4 separate regions of the Homo sapiens genome follow, and all the other regions are linked to region 2. The links are contacts of gene promoters, found by promoter capture Hi-C in blood cells and fetal thymus (Javierre and others, 2016). All regions are on one chromosome and are shown on one strand. Each heading gives the region's core, a stretch centred on a gene start or on the middle of the fragment in contact. The rest is flanking DNA. Distances are from core to core; before and after follow the strand shown.

Region 1 (2,700 bases), core at 159-2,658, 140 kb before region 2:
GATATTAGAAATGTTTCAAGGTCAAATGCCAGATCAACATAGTTTCCTCAGAGCACTCCCTAACACAGGGCCACTTAATCAACATGGTGCCTAAAAGGTGCAGTTCTTCTGTTCTGAAAAGGCATTAAAGTTATAGAATTGCATTTTGAAAAAATAAGCATCTCTTTAGCAAAAATCATTCTGGAGAACAAGGTCAAAATGCTTCCCATCTCCACAGTCCCACCAGCCAGTACCTGGGACATGCTCTTCCAGCCTGGTTCTCAAGAACCGGGCTCTTGGAATGGGGAAGGAGAGGTGAATGATCTGGTTGCCATCCTTTTAAAAAGGGGTGACAGGTATGTGCATTGATTTAGTGTACATGACGACTGGTAAAAGGACACCAAAGGGAGCAAAAGGGGACCTCAGTTGTCCTGAGTCCTGAGTTCATTCTGGAGCCTGCTTGGTGCACTCGTGTTTCCCCCGGGCAGTGCCATATGCCTCACATACCTCCACTCTGATCCTTTTCTTTTCCCACCTCTTTAAATGCAAAGCATCGCCAACCATTGTTCAGTCTCATCACTGAAAGCTGAACACACAGTGGCAGAGGCCAAAGCCTGTGGCTGTGTGTGCCTGAGATTAAGACTTTTATCTGATCTTTGACAACTTGCAGAGGAAATCCTGTTCCAAAACTCACAGCCCTGAGAGAAGGGTTGCCAGCAGTTCTTCCCTCCCACCTGTGAGATAAATCAGGGCACTTGAAATGCGAACATGGTTGATAAATATAATAAGCTTGCCTCCTCTCGCTCCATTAATCTCTCCCCCTACCTTTTTTCTTTGAACCATGGAGCACAACAAAGTCTCTTGGCAGAGCCGGGCTGGGAGTCCTTTGTGTTGCCCTCGTACACATCCGATTACAAAGCAGAGGTGCCTAGCAGAAGAATCCCTGCAGCTGAAACTCAAATGACCGTCCTGTCTTTAGGATTCACGCAGGAGCTCAGCCAGCTCTTTCTAAACCGAGGCAGACACGGGTAGCTGTGTCATATCTGTGTAGACCCAAAGTGGTTCTCAACTCCTTGAGTCAAAGAACATCAGGCAGAAGGGTGTGTCTCTGGCGGTTGGAGTAGAGGTTGCAAAAAGTTGTAGGTTCCTCTCATTTCCTTCACCCCACCCTTGGCTAGGGGACTAATTGAATGTGGTTAGTTCTAGATGGTTCATCATATCCCTGGACTTGATGTAGCCAAGGCAGGTTTACCTGATACTCAGGTACAGCTGGGATGCCCACCAGGGCAAATGGGGAGTGCAAATGAGAATTTCTGTGCCTGAAGGGAAGAATCCCAATACAGAACGCACTGGAACGTTTGCCTTGACTCTGCTCCTTGTTTGGCTTCCCTTACTGCAAAACAGGAGTGGCTCTGGTCACAAGGACACTCAGGGCATACTGGGTGCCCAAGGGGAATGGACAAGAGAAGGCATAGAACCTGCCTCAGGGAGATTTTACTCACAGGGGCCACTGCAGTTATGGAAGAAATGTTGTTCAAAAAGTGTCCAAGCGTCAACACGCAGGAGCACCACCAGCAGCAGGCCAGAGAGGGCGGTCCAGCTCCAGAGGTGACACAGCTAAGAGGTGCGGCCTCTGCCGCAGCACCCTCATTGCGCAGCAAAGGGACACACAGGTGATTACTAAGCTCTTTTTGGCTCTGGCGTCCCATGGTTCTGTGACAGCCTCTGCCAGATAGTTCATTAAGGATGAGGCCAGACCCTCCCTGCTGCCTCCCAAAGGGAATCCGGAAGTGCACTGCCTAGGCCAAGGCATGCCCATGTCCTGGCCGCTCCACCTGCGTGGTGAGCTGGGTGGAGACAGCGTTAGCCCCCGGCCTGCTGCACTATCAGACTCCATGGCATTTGGGGCTGCACCCTGTGATTCCTCTTAAAGCGGAGCTACTCTGCTGAAGGCCCAAGGGAGAGGGCCACGTTTTGTGTTTTGTTTTGTTTCAGCTTGTGAGGAAAATGAACTTGCTAGTCAGTATGGAACTGGCCTGAGGGGAAGTGGGTCAGGGAGGGAAGCTTTACTTCTGGCCGGTGTGGGACAGAGAAGAGAGCAGGAATGCCTGCTCTTCTCCCCGCTTTAACTCCTTACCTCTCCACTTAGACAAAGCTAGGTCAGACATAGAGGACAGGTGCCTCTTTTGCTCTGAGATGGGCTGTGGTTGTGGGACAGGGTGGCTGGATGCAGTGGTGTGCTGGAACTGGCTCATGAGGTTCCTGAGAGCCAGTTGCACGCATCTCTTCTCAACTGCATGCCCAGTGGGAGCTTGAAGCTGGGCATCATGAAATAAGTGCAAATTACACAAACCTGGAGAGCCAGTTGTTAAGTGTTTATGAACACATGTGGCTGAATGCACCTCCTTCTCAATCAGATGGGACTTAAATCTATGTACCAAGGTCTTGGGCTGCAGCAAGTCAGCCTTTGAAGCTGATACATCAGCCCTTTCCGCAACCACTACTCTAGACCTGGCCCTTGGGCTCTGTCCAGGTCCTGGCTGCCTGCATCTCACGGAAAGGTTGAAACAGGGCCTGACTTGCTGAGATCAGCATCTAGACCACCCAACTCCTTACACTCTTCCTCTTGAGGACTTAAAGTGGCTTGCTATCGCTGGTTTTCTAATCCATAAGCTATAAAGTATATACATAATACTAGCCATTATTGATTTAGGAGCTACT
Region 2 (2,839 bases), core at 253-2,752:
AGAATCCAAGTCTTCTCAACTTTGTTTTTTTCAATTATCCTGCAAACATAGTGAATACAGTTGTAATTAGTTATGATTGGTATAATTGACCGTGGGCTCTTTAAATGGGGCAGTGTGCTGAAATTGACTGGGTTACAGGGGCAGGCTGAAGCTTCCCTAGCTCTCTTCATAGACTTCTTTTGTAGCATGTATTACATTTTTGGGGGGAGATCGTTGATTTATGTGTCTGTCTCCTCACTACAATGCAAACTTGCTATCTTTCTAGTGCCTAGAACAGTGCCTGGCACAGGCAATTTATTAAACTAAAGTGAACCAATAGCATTACCTCTTCCTTACTTCCAAGTTAATGTGCAAAGGCAGAAGATGAGCAGTAAAATCTTGCTTTACTTACAATGTCATCTTAACTGCATTGCCAGCTTTATACAATGAAGGCTGATGATGATATGGCTCCAAATGACAGTTATTAGATTTTCAAGGATTTTCTAAGTTTGTATCTTTATTAAAAAGAGAAAGAAGCCAACTATGACAAATCTTAACTCCCACCTCCTACTCAAAGAAGATGGAATCTTTTAGGATAAAAGTCTTAGATTAAGCAGCCAAATACTGACTTCTCAAAAAAAATTGTAATAACTCCATTCATAGAAATGAGATTATGCTGTAACATTCTTACCATAGTCCTGAATATGTGAATAAAAGATGCTGTGTATTTTCACTTAGGACAGATGTAAGATTTTCATATTGTTTACATTTTCCCTAAATGAGAAATGTATGAACACTTCTGCCCTTTTATTCCTGCACCACGGACCATGAGTCAGGGCTGCTAAAAGTATCCTTATTTTAGAGATTGCCTAAAACCAGACTTATATGAAAAGGGGATTTTTAGCTTTACTTTTCAGAAATCCCAAGTCCATATCCAGTCAGCTCTCTTCCACAAAATTATTTTCTTTTCTTTAGAAAATATCACATTTCATATCAAGTTATTAGAGAGAAACGGGAAGCCTGAGCAGGTGACTGGGTGGTGGACGTCCTGTGTTTCTAAAGCAATCCCTTTCCCTCACCTGAGACCTTGCCTAGGTTAATGGGGGCTCCATTGAGAAAGTCAAGGAACATGAAGCATGAATATTTACATATTCAGCAGAGAGTAAATGCATCAGCAAATGATGAGGTGAGATACAGTGTTATCCCACTGAACTAGTTCCCTTTTGCTCATCTCCCTCCCTGTTACTCTCCAAGGCTGAGTTATATTCAGCTGAAGCACAATTTGAAGAATACGAAATAATGTGTGATTTGGTGCCACCACTGTCAATCAACAGTGCTTTCCACCTAGACTGCTGTGCCTGTGCCAGTGGCTGCTGTCCTGGTGCCAGGGGCAAGAGGAAGACTGCCTTTTTTCCAGCTTTCCCTGGCTTGACCACACCCCCCAATTTAAGGAGGCAGCTCTATTAGAAACATTATGGTCTTTGCATCCTCTTAAGCTACGGAGCAGAGGATTCCCGCAGGTAGTTGGAAAGAGACCACAGACTTTGAGGGAAGCTCACTCAGGATCTGCTCTCCGGCAAAGTAGTAAGTGAGGTGTGTGTCAGTTTCTGCCTAAAACTTTTCAGTCCATTTTCCTTTTCCTGCTTTAAAAAAATTTCTGTGGAATTAAAGAGTAAGTCGGTAGGGAGATTCAGGATACAAGTGAGTTTTCTCTTTCTCTTTTCACGTCTTTCTATATTCCCATTTAATTGTTTAACAATTTTCAAAAATACTTCCTAACCTCGTCAGAATAGTCTGAAAGCAAGACTATGTTTTTAAAAATGTTCCCTGCTTCACAAAAGTAAAACCATGCACGTTTTAGATACCCGTAGATTACTTGTCAGAAACCCTGATTTTTTTTTTTTTTTTTTGCAAATTGGAGCACTTCCAAAGAAATAAAGCTGTAGTTAAATATATAAATTTCTTTTTATTCTCTTTCACTCCTAGTAAATCTATTGTTTTACTTTTTTCTCCTGCTAGTAGTTTAATGAATTGCTTTTAATAGAGAGGAAATTGCTACAGGTTTGAATCTTGCTAGCCAAACTAGCCTGTTTGGTGTTTTTCTCTGTCTTGGGACTGACCTGCAGTTGTCCAAAGATCTACAAGTTCCTAAGTCTGTTGTTGAGACATGGTGTGGGTGTGGGCCGCGGTTGTCTCAGAGTTAGGGAGGTATTTCTTGTCCCCACGGTAGAGCTGGACTCAGTGGCAGGAGATGTCGATGGCAATTCCTCTGCATCCGGTGATTTTATCTGGCCGTGACACTTTGTATGTGACTCCTCACCCACCGTTAAAGGTCTCTGTTACCAACTTTTAAAGTAGTATTTTCTTCAGGCAAACTTAAAAGGGTGCTGGGTCACTGAAATCAATGCATTCTATTGCAGGATTTCTTTATCACCTTTTGGGTAAGTTTTTGTTTTTAATCTCAAGTCCATTTTCCTTCTTACTTTAGACCACTGCCATGCAACTGAGAAAAAAGTATTTGTTAAACAGCAGGAAATACCAATTCTAAAATGATAACTCCATCAGCTCCATTTGATTTGTAAAATTACTGATACTATAACTCTTTCATCAGTTGTGGTTTTGGGTTTGGTGGCCTATTTTTATCCAAAGAGAAAACGCTTTTTCTTCAGGGGCCGTGGGCTGTGCACAAGGGCTGCAGGGTGGCCACTGCTGCTGTTGAGAGTCTTGCTCACCTGTTGTTCCTGAATGGAGGGAAGGGAGAGCTAATGGGTTAATGTCTGCAAAGTGCTTTGAAGATGAAAAGGTCTTTTCATGTGTTCAGTAGTGCAGTTATTAATATTAATATTTGAAGAAGCATGCT
Region 3 (2,924 bases), core at 382-2,881, 160 kb before region 2:
CAGACTTGAGAGTGAACGAGCCTTCAGTGAAGGATAACAAAACTCATGAGCCTAATAATTGGTTTATGCCACTAGGTTTCGGGGTAATTTCTTATGTAGCCATAGTAACCGGAACGTCTCCGAGCATTTTACTCAGCAACCGAAAACCCATATTCAAAGGCTGTAGAGGTGACTGTCTGAGTATCCTTTCACTGTGGTTATTGACACTGGCTGGCAGGAATCAGCACCATGACTGTCCAGGTGGGGAAACTGAGGCACAAAGCATAACCCTTCTAGGTTCACACAGTGAGGGGGGAATCGATCTCAGAATTAAAGTCTAAGTCCTCTGATAGACACATAGTGGAATTATCTCCAAACGACAAAAACAAAATAAACAACAGACAAAAACCAAACAAGGACCACATTTTTAAATGAGAACGATCAAATAGAACATGTATTATTTGATGACTTGAAGTTTCCAAGGAACTTTTACTATCATCACCTCATTTAACCTTTTAAAATATGAGTTAGGATCCTCATATTATTGAAAAGAAAATTGAGGCTTAAAGAGGTTTGCTACTTGCCTCTGGCCCCTCACCTCATGAGTCTCCATGCTGCTGGCCTGACTGCAAAGCTTCTACTCCTCCCCTAAACCGTTTCCACTTTGCCGTCTCCAATTTTAGGCCGTAGCACACAGCCAAATCTGCCACAGAGCTTCAGAGTGTCCGGCTGACTTTTCTTTTCTTTCTTTCTTTTTTTTTTTGAGACAGAGTTTCACTCTTGTCGCCCAGGCTGGAGTGCAGAGGCGCGATCTCAGCTTACCGCAACCTCTGCCTCCCAGGGTCAAGTAATTCTCCTGCCTCAGCCTCCTGAGTAGCTGGGATTACAGGCGCCCACCACCACGCCCATCTAATTAGTAGAGACAGGGTTTCACCATGTTGGTCAGGCTGGTCTCAAACTCCTGACCTCAGGTGACCCACCTGCCTCGGCCTCCCAAAGTGCTGGGATTACAGGTGTGAGCCACCGTGCCTGGACCCCGGCTGACTTTTCAAGGAGTCTTGTTGAACATCATTCCCCCTCCCAAGTGCCTTTCCCCTTTCACTTACAATTCCACTTCCTGGGGAGGGGGCTCAGCAGTGGATGACCCAGAGAAAGAATTCCTAGAAGATGCAATTGCAATTATTTGCAGACGAAAGTACTTTATTTAATGGTGTTTTACAAATGAAGGGTATAGCCTAAGTGAGCACAGAGAAGAGGATCTCTGCATCCTCCCAGGACTGTACCCTGTAACAGAATCCAGAGCCATGGCCTTCTGTGCCTCACGGGCCTCCCGTTCAGTGCTGCTCCAGGTCTCCCGTGGTATTTACCTTTGCCTGTTGACTTTGAGTGTTCACAGTCACTTTTTTGACCATAACCACATTTAAAGGGCATCTCTAAAGATCAAAGTTAAATTCTCCTCCCACAGAGAATGCTTTTACTGCTGAAAAGCAAAAAGTGCTGAATATGGAAACTCACAGGATGGGAGATAGAACATTCATCTGAACCCCACGAAGAGAACATTTTACAGTGTGTTTTACTTTCTGTTTCTTTACACTGGGTCTGTCCACTGTCCAGTGGCTTTTTCTAGATGGCAGTGGGAACCACAAAAGGGTCGGCAATGCTCTACTGGGTGTAATTCTTCACACTTGACCGTCCGGGACGAAGCTCCTCTCAGAGAATAAAGTAGGGGGTGGCCTGACCATTAAAGTAGGTCCCACAGTATCAAAGGGACAGCGCAAAGCAAAGCCAGACTGAGATGTTGAGACTTACTACCATTAAGCAGCTTAGATGTTCTCTTCTGTAAGACGGAGCCAGTATTCTCCCACCTAGCCGGATGGGTAGGAAGTATTAAATACAGGCCTCACTGGAGCAAAGGTGGGATGATAAAAATGGAAGCAGCAACCACCACGACAAAACCCACATGGCATGGGAGAACCTGCAGGGAGGGCTGCTTCTGGGAAGGCCACCTGGATGCACCAGCACAAGTGCTGTCCCACATACTTTTCCCTGGGACTCTATTCCGCCAGATGTCACTGGAGTGGCTGTACCCGTCATGAAAAATACTGCAGCACAGCCACACAGGTGGATAAAGTGCTGCTGCGCTGAGATTCGTCATTTCCCTCCTCTGCTCTGGGACAAAGAAAGGGCAGGTGATGGGCACCGTGTCTCCTCCAGAACCCTGCTTCAAGACAATGGGCTGCTGTCTTGCAGCCCGCGCCTTACAGATTGTCATGATGTGAATGTTGTCCCTGACCTGGGGAATGGTTTCCTGATCCCAGTGATGGTGCCGCCTGAGGATGGGTGAAGATCTGGACCACACTGGGAGCAGCCTCTTCCTGCAGAGGAGCCCTGGCCATCCTGGCTGCAGATGGGGTCAAAAGGCAGCCAATCACCACACTGCTTGCTTCCCTTCATGGACAGCTGCTTTAAATCTGTTCTAACAAAAGGCACTGGCCACCAGCTGGGTCAATGTGGAGCTTTATTGGCTGTGCAACTTTGGGCAAGTTACTTAATCTCCCAGCTCCTGGACATTTTTAACCATCCTTTACTGAAAGTTTCATGCTTTCCGATGATGATAAATGGTCAGACTTCCCTGACCACCAAGAGCTGAAAGTTTGGAAGAAAAGCTTCCGTGGGGAGTGACTGCAGTGCTTCCTCGTGGAGTGAATTTCACCCACTGCAGGGTTGAAATAGTAGCCTGGGAGCCAGGATGGAGTTCCGGAGCTTTCCTATTGCTTGAGAAAGAGGCTTCTAAGAATGTCCCTTGAGGCCTGGTCTTTATGGGTCTGACCTGGCAGCTAGACCAAGAGGATCTCAATCTGGGTCTGCAGGGACAAGAGAGGACTCTGCGTGACAAAGGGAAGGTGGGAGTCAGAACATTCAGATCCTAAAGGATGGGCTCCCAC
Region 4 (2,700 bases), core at 143-2,642, 160 kb after region 2:
CAAATGCCCATCAATGATAGACTGGATAAAGAAAATGTGCACATACACACTGTGGAATATTATGCAGCCATAAAAAAGAATGAGTTCATATTATTTGCAGGGACATGGATGAAGCTGGAAACCATCATCCTCAGCAAACTAACATAGGAACAGAAAACCAAACACTGCACATTATCACTCATAAGTGGGAGTTGAACGATGAGAACACATGGACACAGGGAGGGGAACATCACACACCAGGCCTGTCGGGGGGTGAGGGGAAAGGGGAGCAAGAGCATTAGGCCAAATATCTAATGCACGTGGGGCTTCAAACCTAGAGGATGGGTTAATAGGTGCAGCAAACCACCATGATACATGTATACCTGTGTAACAAACCTGCACGTACGGCACATGTATCCCAGAACTTAAAAAAAAAAAAGCAAACAAACAAAAAACCATAGTAGTATGTTTTTAAATAATAATATACGTTAATTGTTATTACTTAATAACATAAGCAGCTAATATTTACTAGATACCACATTAAATACTTTAATAAAACATATATATACATATGGTGCCTACTGTGTGCAAGACACTGTTCTAGAAACTGAAAGAAACAAGATTTTTGCTCTCCTGGGACCTACTTACTCCTGGGAGAGACAGACAAAAAAATCACAAAAATAATTAAGATAATTTTAGACATTAATGAATATTGCAGAGCAAATTGGCTGGGTTTGGTGGCTCACACCTGTAATCCCAGCACTTTGGGAGGCCCAGGCAGGTGGATCATTTGAGGTCAGGAGTTTGAGACCAGCCTGGCCAACATAGTAAAACCCTGGCTCTACTAAAAATACAAAAAATTATCTCGGTGTGATGGTGGGTGCCTGTAATCCCAGCTACTCGAGAGGCTGAGGCAGGAGAATTGCTTGAACTGGGGAAGTGGAGCTTGCAGTGAGGAAATGGAGATCGTGCCACTGCACGCCAACCTGGACAAGAGAGCGAGACTCTGTCTCAAATAATAAGCACTTATTTAATAAATGGTGCTGGGAAAACTGGCTAGCCATATGTAGAAAGATGAAACTGGATCCCTTCCTTACACCTGATACAAACATTAATTCAAGATGGATTAAAGACTTAAATGTTAGACCTAAAACCATAAAAACCCTAGAAGAAAACCTAGGCAATACCATTCAGGACATAGGCACGGGCAAGGACTTCATGACTAATACAAAAAGCAATGATGACAAAAGCCAAAATAGACAAATGGGATCTAATTAAACTAAAGCACTTCTGCACAGCAAAAGAAACTACCATCAGAGTGAACAGGCAATCTACAGAATGGGAGAAAATTTTGCAGTCTACTCATCTGACAAAGGGCTAATATCCAGAATCTACAATGAACTCAAACAAATTTACAAGAAAAAAACGAACAACCCCATCAAAAAGTGGGCGAAGGATATGAACAGATGCTTCTCAAAAGAAGACATTTATGCAGCCAACAGACACAAGAAAAAATGCTCACCATCACTGGTCATCAGAGAAATGCAAATCAAAACCACAATGAGATACCATCTCATGCCAGTTAGAATGGCGATCATTAAAAAGTCAGGAAACAACAGACGCTTGAGAGGATGTAGAGAAATAGGAACGCTTTTATGCTGTTGGTGGGAGTGTAAATTATTTCAACCATTGTGGAAGACAGTGTGGCAATTCCTCAAGGATCTAGAACTAGAAATACCATTTGACCCAGTGATCCCAAAGATCATAAATCATGCTACTATAAAGACACATGCACATGTATGTTTATTGCAGCACTGTTCACAATAGCAAAGACTTGGAACCAACCCAAATGTCCATCAATGATAGACGGAATTAAGAAAATGTGGCACATATACACCATAGAATACTATGCAGCCATAAAAAATGATGAGTTCATGTCCTTTGCAGGGACATGGATGAAGCTGGAAACCATCAATCTCAGCAAACTATCACAAGGACAGAAAACCAAACACCGCATGTTCTCACTCACAGGTAGGAACTCAACAATGAGAACGCTTGGACACAGGGTGGGGAACATCACACACTGGGGCCTGTCGTGGGGTGGTGAGCTGGGGGAGGGATAGCATTAGGAGAAATACCTAATGTAAATGACGAGTTCATGGGTGCAGCAAACCAATATGGCACATGTATACATATGTAAGAAACCTGCATGTTGTGCACATGTACCCTAGAACTTAAAGTATAATAAAAAAGAAAGAAAGGAAAAAAGAATACTACACAGAAAATGGGCTAGAGAGTCCCGGGGTGGGGAACACAGCAGCTTTAGATTCATGGTTCCCTGCTGAGGAGGTGACTTGTGCTGAGACAGAAGACTTGACAATAGGGGGTGGGGGTCTCCCTGAGAAGAGAAGAGCAGGCTGACACTCCTGCACAGAGCACACTGGAAGGCAGAGAGAGGGCCTGGCAGGGTGGGTGGTCAGAGCAGATCCACCAGTGGACCAGGGCATGAGTTGAGTTTTTGTTTTTGTTTGTTTGTTTGTTTGTTTTTGAGACGGAGTCTTGCTCTGTCGCCCAGGCTGGAGTGCAATGGCGTGATCTCAGTTCACTGCAACCTCTGCCTCCTGAGTTCAAGCGATTCTCCTGCCTCAGCCTCCTGAGTAGCTGAGACTACAGGCGTGCGCCACCACTCCTGGCTAATTTTTTGTATTTTTAGTAGAGACA

What was found. The method cuts DNA at HindIII sites, captures the fragments that hold promoters and counts their contacts. A CHiCAGO score of 5 or more calls a contact.
Region 1: a contact is called between a fragment that was not itself captured here and the fragment with the promoter of ETS1 in region 2, in 6 of 17 cell types (activated CD4 T cells, total B cells, naive B cells and 3 more). The highest score is 9.1, in activated CD4 T cells.
Region 3: a contact is called between a fragment that was not itself captured here and the fragment with the promoter of ETS1 in region 2, in 5 of 17 cell types (activated CD4 T cells, total B cells, naive CD8 T cells and 2 more). The highest score is 11.9, in activated CD4 T cells.
Region 4: a contact is called between a fragment that was not itself captured here and the fragment with the promoter of ETS1 in region 2, in 5 of 17 cell types (total B cells, activated CD4 T cells, naive B cells and 2 more). The highest score is 9.0, in total B cells.

The regions. Positions count from the first base shown.
Region 1 is chr11:128,727,315-128,730,014 of GRCh38, reverse strand. All of the region lies in intron 1 of FLI1 (Fli-1 proto-oncogene, ETS transcription factor), which reads right to left. Among named protein-coding and RNA genes, the nearest start is that of SENCR, 33 kb to the right of the region's middle. The HindIII fragment of the contact is 1,275 bases long and covers 771-2,045 here.
Region 2 is chr11:128,586,221-128,589,059 of GRCh38, reverse strand. ETS1 (ETS proto-oncogene 1, transcription factor) reads left to right here and starts at 1,502. Exons shown (of 10, transcript NM_001143820.2): 1 at 1,502-1,572. It overlaps LOC105369565 (a long non-coding RNA gene), which reads right to left. Exons shown (of 5, transcript XR_948163.3): 4 at 2,100-2,720; 5 at 1-39. RefSeq lists a silencer at 1,343-1,549. The HindIII fragment of the contact is 9,036 bases long and covers 154-2,839 here.
Region 3 is chr11:128,746,452-128,749,375 of GRCh38, reverse strand. The region is part of intron 1 of FLI1 (Fli-1 proto-oncogene, ETS transcription factor); the gene reads right to left. Among named protein-coding and RNA genes, the nearest start is that of SENCR, 52 kb to the right of the region's middle. The HindIII fragment of the contact is 2,032 bases long and covers 616-2,647 here.
Region 4 is chr11:128,425,788-128,428,487 of GRCh38, reverse strand. All of the region lies in intron 1 of LOC124902789 (a long non-coding RNA gene), which reads right to left. Among named protein-coding and RNA genes, the nearest start is that of MIR6090, 95 kb to the left of the region's middle. The HindIII fragment of the contact is 3,566 bases long and covers 1-2,700 here.